Linked DNA regions of Homo sapiens: regions 1 and 3 are each linked to region 2. Evidence: promoter capture Hi-C in human tissues and cell types (Jung and others, 2019). All regions are on one chromosome and are shown on one strand. The core of a region is centred on a gene start or on the middle of the fragment in contact, and the rest is flanking DNA. Distances in the headings are between cores, read along the strand shown. Region 1 overlaps MLEC (malectin). Region 2 holds the start of CABP1 (calcium binding protein 1). Region 3 has its middle 5.5 kb from the start of POP5.

Region 1 (2,700 bases), core at 163-2,662, 61 kb before region 2:
AGCTACTTGAAATAGTAACAACGAAATCTGAATTAGGAAAGAACTCCAGTTATGGGTGGGCTCAGCCTAAGAAAGAGGCTCTGTGGGCCTCCTGGCTTGTTTGGGCCCTGAGAACAGACTCCATCAACAATGGCCTCACTCTTGGGGCTGCACACTGAATTCTGCCCTTCAAGGGATAACTGAGGGAGGTAGGCCAAACTCCTGTTCCTCCACCTCCACCCCTCCCTACCCCTGCAAGCCAGCAGTCTCCATTCCCACTCGGAGAAATCCCGCAGGTAGGCTCTGGAGCCATGCCACCCAGCACCATGAAGAAATGGATGGCAGCAGAGGGTAATGATGGAGAGCAGGAGTCCTGGTTTAAAACCCCAGCTCCGCCTTTTGTTGGTTGTGCTACCTTGTGCAAGTCACTTCATCTCTTAAAGGGGAATAGCAACTGGTTTGTTGAAGATAAAAGAGAGATAACATGTGGAAAATGCTGGGCATTGTGCCCAGCCCATTTCAAGGACTCAGTAATGGACAGCTGTAATTATCTTTACAGCTTTAAAGAGCTTGGGGCTTTGATGGCAAACAGACTGAATTTGAACCCTGGCTTGACCAGACCATTTACTACATTAGTCTGGGGTATGTTACTGAACTTTTTTGAGCTTCAGTGTTTGTGTGTGTGTGTGTATGTGTGTGTCTGTGTGTGTGTGTCTGTGTCTGGGTCACCCAGGCTGGAGTGCAATGGCGAAATCTCAGCTCACTGCAGCACTGACCTCCTGGGCTCAAGTAATCCTCCCACCTCAGCCTCCTAAGTAGCTGCGACTACAGGCATGCACCACCATGCCTGGCTAATTTTTGTATTTTTAGTAGAGACAGGGTTTCGCCATGTTGCCCAGGCTGGTCTTGAACTCCTGGGCTCAAGCAATCTGCTGGCCTCAGCCTCCCAAAGTGCTAGGATAACAGGCGTTAAGCCACCATGCCTGGCTCAACGATCCTCACCTGTAAAACGTGGCTTATAAATTATAGGAAAAAAAATCCCTCCTGCATTCTGCTCTTCCTAATGTGTAATCAACAATGACAAAACACCAGAAAAGGAGCAAGCAGAGAAAAATCTCCTATGGCTTAGGTTAGCTTAGCTTGTCCGTGGGCTATCACAGAGGCTAAGGGAATGGTGAGGAGAGGCAGCAATAGGCCCAGTGTGCCTTAAGAGTGGGACAGTCTGTGCCTAGTTGTTCCAGTGAAAGTGAAAACAAATTTTTTGTCCTTAAATGCGCTGCTAGTTGAAATGACCAGGAAGGGTTTTACAGAATGATTCCCCTAAGCAAACATCCCAGAGAGAAGAAAAGCAAAAGACACACAGCTAAATGGACAACAGTTCCCAGCCTCGTCACAGGAGAACTCTTTGGAGCCAAGTGAACCCCTGGGTCTCCTTTTTCCCACCCCATCACTTCAGCGCTTTGAGATCAAGTTCGAACTCAGTCCCAACACAGAGTGTCACTGCAAATTGTTTATTAAAACACAAAGCAATGGACAGTGAAAAACATCCTGATTTTGTACTTTTTGGTGGGAGTGGGGTGGGACATGGAAGGGGTAGGGTCAGATGGAGACAGCCCAGAAGGAAAGCCAGCTCTATCCACCCCTACAGCTTCCCCGGCCAACCAGGTTCAAAGCCCATCAGTTATATCTCACTGTGCCGCTGTCAATGCATGTTGTGGCTGCTGGCAAAGAGTTGGTTTGGCCTCCACAGAGAGAGGATGGGAAACTAGGGTAGAAGCTACAAGGGCTAAGAACTTGATGCTTTTTCTCCAGTACTTGGTACAGAATAGAGCAGCCAGGCCCAATGTGGAAGGGTGGGCTTGGTTTCCTGACAAGCCAGGTTAGACCAATAATGGTTGAAGAGGCTGCCCTGGGCTCAGAATGGGCAGCTGGTCCTTGCCTGGGAGAACTTTGTGGAAGGAAAAGGTAAGATTCCTTAAGTCCAAGGAGAGAACCAATCCAGGGTCAAATTTCTTTTCATTCCCTGGATCACAACACACCAGGGAAGAGAGGAGTCAAGAATGTCTCTCCCTGCCAGTGCTCCCCTCCTACCTCGCAACTCGGCTCTCCCTTCCCGACAGTTGTCCTTTGAAAGGACGGAAAGCGCACTTCAGTTTGTTGTTGTTTTTCCTCATACTGAAATAAAGCACTGAAGCTCAAAATAGAGGTGAGAATGGAGTTCTGCTTTCCCCAGTGCTATGTGCCCCCATCTCACAAGACTGCCTGGATGCAAGAGGTGCCAAGGCCCTCTCTGCCAACTCAAACAGGCACTACTGTTTCCTTGGCTGCCAGCACAATCCTGGCTCCTTGTGTTTATACTCCTGGGGGAACCTGTCCCAAGAGATCCATCCTGCTCTTTTCCTGCCAACCCAGCTAGTCCCCAAATCACCTGCTCTTATCAAGATAATCTGGCCCCCCATAGCAGGCTAGACAAAAGGCAGCTGGAAAGGACAGGCCAGACTGGAAGCAAGCCACACAGATGCAAAGAAGAAACCTGCCCTCGCTAGGCAGCTGATCTACTGGTACCAATCTAGTCTCATAACAAAATGAGGAAATCTAGCCCTCTTGCCCCAGAGAGATTTAAATACAGAGAGTCTTAGTTTGGACTGAAAGAGAAAAATTGCTCTGATCTTTCTAAAGCTTGAACATTAAGGCTTCTTTGCAATTTTCTTAGAGCTCTTT
Region 2 (2,700 bases), core at 103-2,602:
TCCAATGGCATCCCTAGAGTGACAGCCTCCTTAAACCACCCCAAAGTTCCAGTTTGAGCCACAGCTCTGCATGCCCCTCCATGCCTACCCAGACACCTCTTCTCTTTCCTCATATTTTTGGATCTCCTAACTTTTCTCAGGCCTTCAGGGACATGATAGGCAGTGGCCAGTGTCCCTCGCCCTCAAGTAATTCTGTGTTCTCTGAGGTCCCCTCTCTTGACCCCCAGACTCCAAACCGCTTGCTCTCCTGAGTCCCTCCCTGGCGGTACTGGCCAGAGGCCAGAGGAGTGGGTTTGGCGCCACCTGCTCGGAGCGCCCCTCCTTGACCCCCGCAAATCTCCAGGACGGTCGTAGAGGTCGCTCTCTTCCAGGACTGGCGGGTTCTGGCGGGTATGAGGGAGGCTAGCGGGGAGGGCCTTGCCCCAAGAGGCCCGGAGCGTGGACAGCGCACGGGGTGCTGAATCAGGCACGGGGAGGAGGAGTGCCGGCAAGGGCGCCGGCCCGGGGAGGACGAGGTGAGCCGAGGCGTGATCCGTGGGGGACCACGGGCCGCGGGAGGAGGCTGTGGACGCGCAACCGCGGCCGGCAGGGTCCCGAGCGCCTTTCCCGGGAGCGCTGACGGGAGGCGCGGCCCTTACCTGGCCAAAGGCGGAGCTGAGCATGGGGCGCAGCCGGTGGAGGAACGGGTCCGCCTCGGACGCGGCGGCTGGAACGGAGTCCCCGCGGCCCCGGGCTCGCAGAGAGCCCCGGAGGCCGAGCGCCGGGGACAGTCCCCGTTCCTCCCCATCCCGCCCGCGGGCCGGCGGCAGCGGCGACGACGGCGAAGGTCGGGACGCCGCGGCCGGCAGCGCCTCCCGGGGCCTGCAGTGCGCCTGGGGGAGCACACGCTGGCTCCCCCGCGCGCCCTCCTCTCGCGGCGCCGGCCGGCACAGGGGCCTCCGCGAACTGGGGTCCCCGGACGACTGCGGCGTCGCCGGGCAGGAGCCGGGTAGCCGGCGGCTAGGCAGCCCCGGGTCCCGGGCAGGGCCGTGGCGGGGAGCCCGGCTGCCCCCGCTCGCCGCCGCCGCCGCCGCCTTCAGCAGCGACGTCTTGGACTCGCTTTTGGCGATGTGCGAGCTCATCGCGGCGGGGCCCGCGCTCGCATGGCCCGGCGGGGGCGGCGCGGTGCGGCGCGGCGCGGGGCCCCCGGCGGGCAGAGAACGGGGCTCCCGGCGGGAGCCAAGCCCGAGGACGCGCTGGAGGCGGGCGCCGTCCCCCGGCCGCTTAAATGCGGCCCCGTCGCCGCCGCCCATGTGACAGCGCAGCCTCTACGCCCGGAGCCCGGAGCTCCCGGCGGCTGGCGGTGCAGATCTGGGGGCGCTGCCGGCTGTCCCCGGAGAGCCCACCCCCGGCTCCCTGGCGGCCCAGGTACCGCCGCGCCCCGCCCCTTGCCCCGCCCCGCCCTGGGGGAGCCCCGCTTCCGGGCGGCCCCTGGCGGCGAAGGGGACGCTGCAACGCGGAGCGGGAGCACGAGGAGGGAAGGGGCTTGGCAATGGGCCCCAAAGAGGCCGAGACCCCGGGAGTGCCGGCAGCGCTCTTTATCACGCCTGGAGGCTCCTGCAGAGCCCCGGAACCGCCCGAACCTCCAGAAATGCAGGCAGGGTGCACTCCCCAGGGGGTACAACTTTGGCAATGAGGACTACAGAGGTCCGGGGAGAACCGGAGACCCGAGGAGCATGAAGGCACTCTGTGACATCACTGCCTACAAACGCAGGGGCCGGAATGCAGTGACAGGACACTGCTGGGAGGAAAGTCTCCCAGCGCCTCCGTGTGGGGCTGCCTCCACTCCCAATACCGTGCGGGGGGACTAGGACGACCCTGGTAAGTCAGCCACAGGATATCAGTTCTCAGAATAGAAGAGAAGCCAGGTCTGGCAGCACCTGATGATGGTAAGTCTCAGGTAGGACCCATTTGCTCCCCCTCCAGCTCTTGTCCCCTCTTTCACCTTCCTGCCTTTCTAGATGCTACAGAAATTCCTGCTCTCGGTGGGCAGCCAGGGAGCGTCCCAGGCCTTATCTGAATCTCAAATCCCAGCTCTGCCACCTACCATCTGGGTAACTTGGGCAGGTGTCATCAACCTCTCTGAGCCTTGTTCTCCTCTTCTGTAAAATGCAGATGATAAGCATAACTAATTTCTTGGTAACAGCAGACGATACTATGCACACAAAAGGCCTAGCCCAGTGCTCGGACAGGGGACCATCCAGTTAAGCCAGTTCCCTTCCCCCTGCACATCGTGAGGCCCCATCTACCATTCTTCTTTAGTATCCGGTGCTTGAGCTTTGCGGGGGGCTGGAGGGGTTCCTCCCAGGCTCTCCCTGTTCTGGTCCCTGGCCCCAATGCCATCCACAGTCTTGTCACCGCTCGGCCTCATTAAAAGGATACACGAGGCCGGGCACAGTGGCTCGCACCTGTAATCCCAGCACTTTGGGAGGCCAAGACCGGCGGATCACTTGAGGTCAGGAGTTCGAGACCAGCCTGGCCAACATGGTGAAACCCTGTCTCTACTAAAAATACAAAAATTAGCCAGGCGTGGTGGTGGGCGCCTGTAATCCCAGCCACTTGTAGGCATGAGAATAACTTGAACCCGGGAAGTGAAAGTTGCAGTGAGCCGAGATTGGGTCACTACACTCCAGCCTGGGCAACAGAGTGAGACCCTGTCTC
Region 3 (2,700 bases), core at 149-2,648, 54 kb after region 2:
TTTTTTACTTTTTTTTTTTTTTTTGAGACAAAGCCTCGCTCTGTCACCCAGGCTGGAGTGCAGTGGTGCACTCATGGCTCACTGCAGCCTCAACCTCCTGGGCTCAAGCAATCCTCCCACCTCACACTCCCAAGTAGCTGGGACTACAGCCAAGTGCCACCATGCCTGGCTAATTTGTACTTTTTTGTAGAGACGGGGTCTCACTTTGTTGCCCAGGCTGGTCTTGAACTCCTGGGCTCAAGCAATCCTCCTGCCTCAGCCTCTCAAAGTGCTGGGATTATAGGCATGAGCCACCATGCGTGGCCAGTAACTTCTTTAAATTATGAAACTAACATATGCACATCTCCATTTGTCTTTTCAGGATGCTACAGTAAAAATACCACAGACTGGTTGGCTTAAACAACAAATATTTATTGCTTTTATTGCTCACAGTTCTGGAGGCTGGGAAGTCCAAGATTAAGGTGCCAGGAGATTCTGTGTCCTCATGTGGTAGGAGAGGGAGAGAGCACTCTCTGGGGTCCCTCTTTTTTTTTTTTTTTGGAGACAGGACCTTGTTCTGTCACCCAGGCTGGAGTGCAGCGGTGTGATCTCAGCTCACTGCAACCTCTGCCTCCCAGGCTCAAGCTCAAGTGATTCTCCTGCCTCAGCCTCCTGAGTAGCTGGGATTACAGGCATGCACCACCATACCCAGCTAATTTTTGTATTTTTAGGAGAGGCGGGGTTTCACCATGTTGCCCAGGCTGGTCTTAAACTCCTAGAATCAAGTGATCCACCCACCTCAGCCTCCTGAAGTACTGGGATTACAGGCATGGGCCACAGTCCCCAGCCTGGGGTCCCTTTTATAAGGGCACTAATACTATTCATGAGGGTTCAACTCTTATGACCTAATCACCTCCCAAAGGCCCCACCTCCTAATACCATCATCTTAAAGGTTAGGATTTCCGTATATTAATTTGAGGGAACATAAACATTCAGCACACAAACATATGGCAAAATAAAATGGAAAAACAGAGGACATGGTAGAAACTAAGGCCTTCCTACTTCACACCTGAATTCCTCTCCCCAGAGGTAACCACCATCAACAGCTTCTTGGGTCACCCTTTGGAAATTTTCGATGCAAATAAAGGCAGAGAAGCCATATAGAACAGTGGTTAAGAACATGGACTGCCTGATCCAAATTCTGGCCCTGCTGTGGACAAGCTACGTGAAGCTTAGGCCAACAGTTTGTTCTCCCTGAGCCTCAGTTTCCTCATCTGTAAAATGGGGTTAATAAAACCAAGTACCTACTTTATAGGGTAGTTGTCAGGATTAAATGAGTCAGTCTAGGCAGTGTTTATTTGTTTATTTATTTATTTATTTTTTGAGACAGAGTTTTGCTCTGTTGCCCAGGCTGGAGTGCAGTGGCACAGTCTCAGCTCACTGCAACCTCTGCCTCCTGGGTTCAAGCGATCCTCCTGCCTCAGCCTCCCGAGTAGCTGGGATTTACAGGCAACTACCACCATGCCCAGCTAGTTTTTTGTATTTTTAGTAGAGATGGGGTTTCACCATATTGGCCAGGCTGGTCTCGAACTCCTGACCTCAAGTGATCCGCCCACCTCGGCCTCCCAAAGTGCTGGGATTGCAGACGTGAGCCACCGCGCCCAGCCTAGGCAGTGTTTAGAATGAACATTCCCTGGCCCATAGTTGTCCGATAAATACACACATACAGTGGACCCCTTCTGGTAAACACTGAGGTGGCCTTTTGCTATAACCAACGATGCTGCAAGCAAGACACATCCTCATTCACCTGTCATTTGGCACAAATGCGACAATCTCTGTGGGAGAAATTGCTGGTGGAGAAATTGCTGGGTCAAACAGTAGAGCCCTTGTAATTTCAATTAATTTTTGGATGAGCGAATTCTCACAGCAGGCGGGGACAGGGAAAGAGGTTCACAGGGCAGCGAGGACAAAGGAGGAGCAAGATGCAATGTTTTGACTGAAGTCCAGGGAGGGCTGCATCTGTCCCAGCAACCTGGAGGATGTGGCGGCTCCCCAAGCCCCTGGCTAAGCAGATGGAGGGTTTAATTTCATCTAGATTGTCCCCATAAGGGTTTTACAGAAAATTGGTTAAGATTCGAGGAGTAGGAGCCTCTTACGAGCAGTGGCTGCTTAATAAAATGCTGGAGCAGATACAGTTTCCCTTTGCCACCATCCACAACAGCAGCATCTGGGCTCTGACAGAAACCCCTCGGATGCCAAAGTCACCTCAGAATGGTACCCCAGTTGCGCTCTCCTTCCTCAGCATCTTTCTAGGTCCCCGAATACAGAGTAGAGAGCAAGGGGTTAAGAGCACAGGTTTTAGGGTAAGACAGATGTCCACCCAAATTTACTGTGTCAACTTGGGCAAGCCATTTTCCTCCCTGTGTCTCAGAGGATAATGGGTCCTAACTTCATGAGGCTGATGTGAGGACTCAATCAATCAAACCCAGAAAAGACAGTGGCCAGCACACTGGGAGAGCCCAATTAATGATCACCCAGGAGACACGGATGAAGAATAAAGACAGTGATCCCGGCTGGACACGGTGGCTCACACCTGTAATCCCAGCACTTTGGGAGGCCCAGACAGGCAGATCACATGAGGCCAGGAGTTCGAGACCAGCCCGGCCAACATGGCAAAACCCCATCTCTGCTAAAAATACAAAAAATAGCCAGGTATAGTGG

What was found. Contacts are between HindIII fragments. The study calls those that stand out against the background at their distance.
Region 1: a fragment that was not itself captured here is called in contact with the fragment with the promoter of CABP1 in region 2 in 3 of the 25 tissues and cell types used here (adrenal gland, neural progenitor cells and small bowel).
Region 3: a contact is called between a fragment that was not itself captured here and the fragment with the promoter of CABP1 in region 2, in 2 of the 25 tissues and cell types used here (dorsolateral prefrontal cortex and liver).

The regions. Positions count from the first base shown.
Region 1 is chr12:120,700,634-120,703,333 of GRCh38, reverse strand. MLEC (malectin) reads right to left here. Exons shown (of 5, transcript NM_014730.4): 5 at 1,475-2,700. It overlaps LOC124903035 (a long non-coding RNA gene), which reads left to right. Exons shown (of 2, transcript XR_007063489.1): 1 at 1-621; 2 at 1,290-1,523. Among named protein-coding and RNA genes, the nearest start is that of UNC119B, 8.5 kb to the left of the region's middle. The HindIII fragment of the contact is 5,890 bases long and covers 1-2,700 here.
Region 2 is chr12:120,639,278-120,641,977 of GRCh38, reverse strand. It overlaps CABP1 (calcium binding protein 1), which reads right to left and starts at 1,352. Exons shown (of 6, transcript NM_001033677.2): 1 at 639-1,352. The coding sequence starts at 1,292. CABP1-DT (CABP1 divergent transcript) reads left to right here and starts at 1,456. Exons shown (of 2, transcript NR_183426.1): 1 at 1,456-1,928. RefSeq lists silencers at 373-472, 693-862, 873-972, 1,193-1,492. The HindIII fragment of the contact is 37,846 bases long and covers 1-2,700 here.
Region 3 is chr12:120,585,585-120,588,284 of GRCh38, reverse strand. No RefSeq gene overlaps it. Among named protein-coding and RNA genes, the nearest start is that of POP5, 5.5 kb to the right of the region's middle. The HindIII fragment of the contact is 5,268 bases long and covers 1-2,700 here.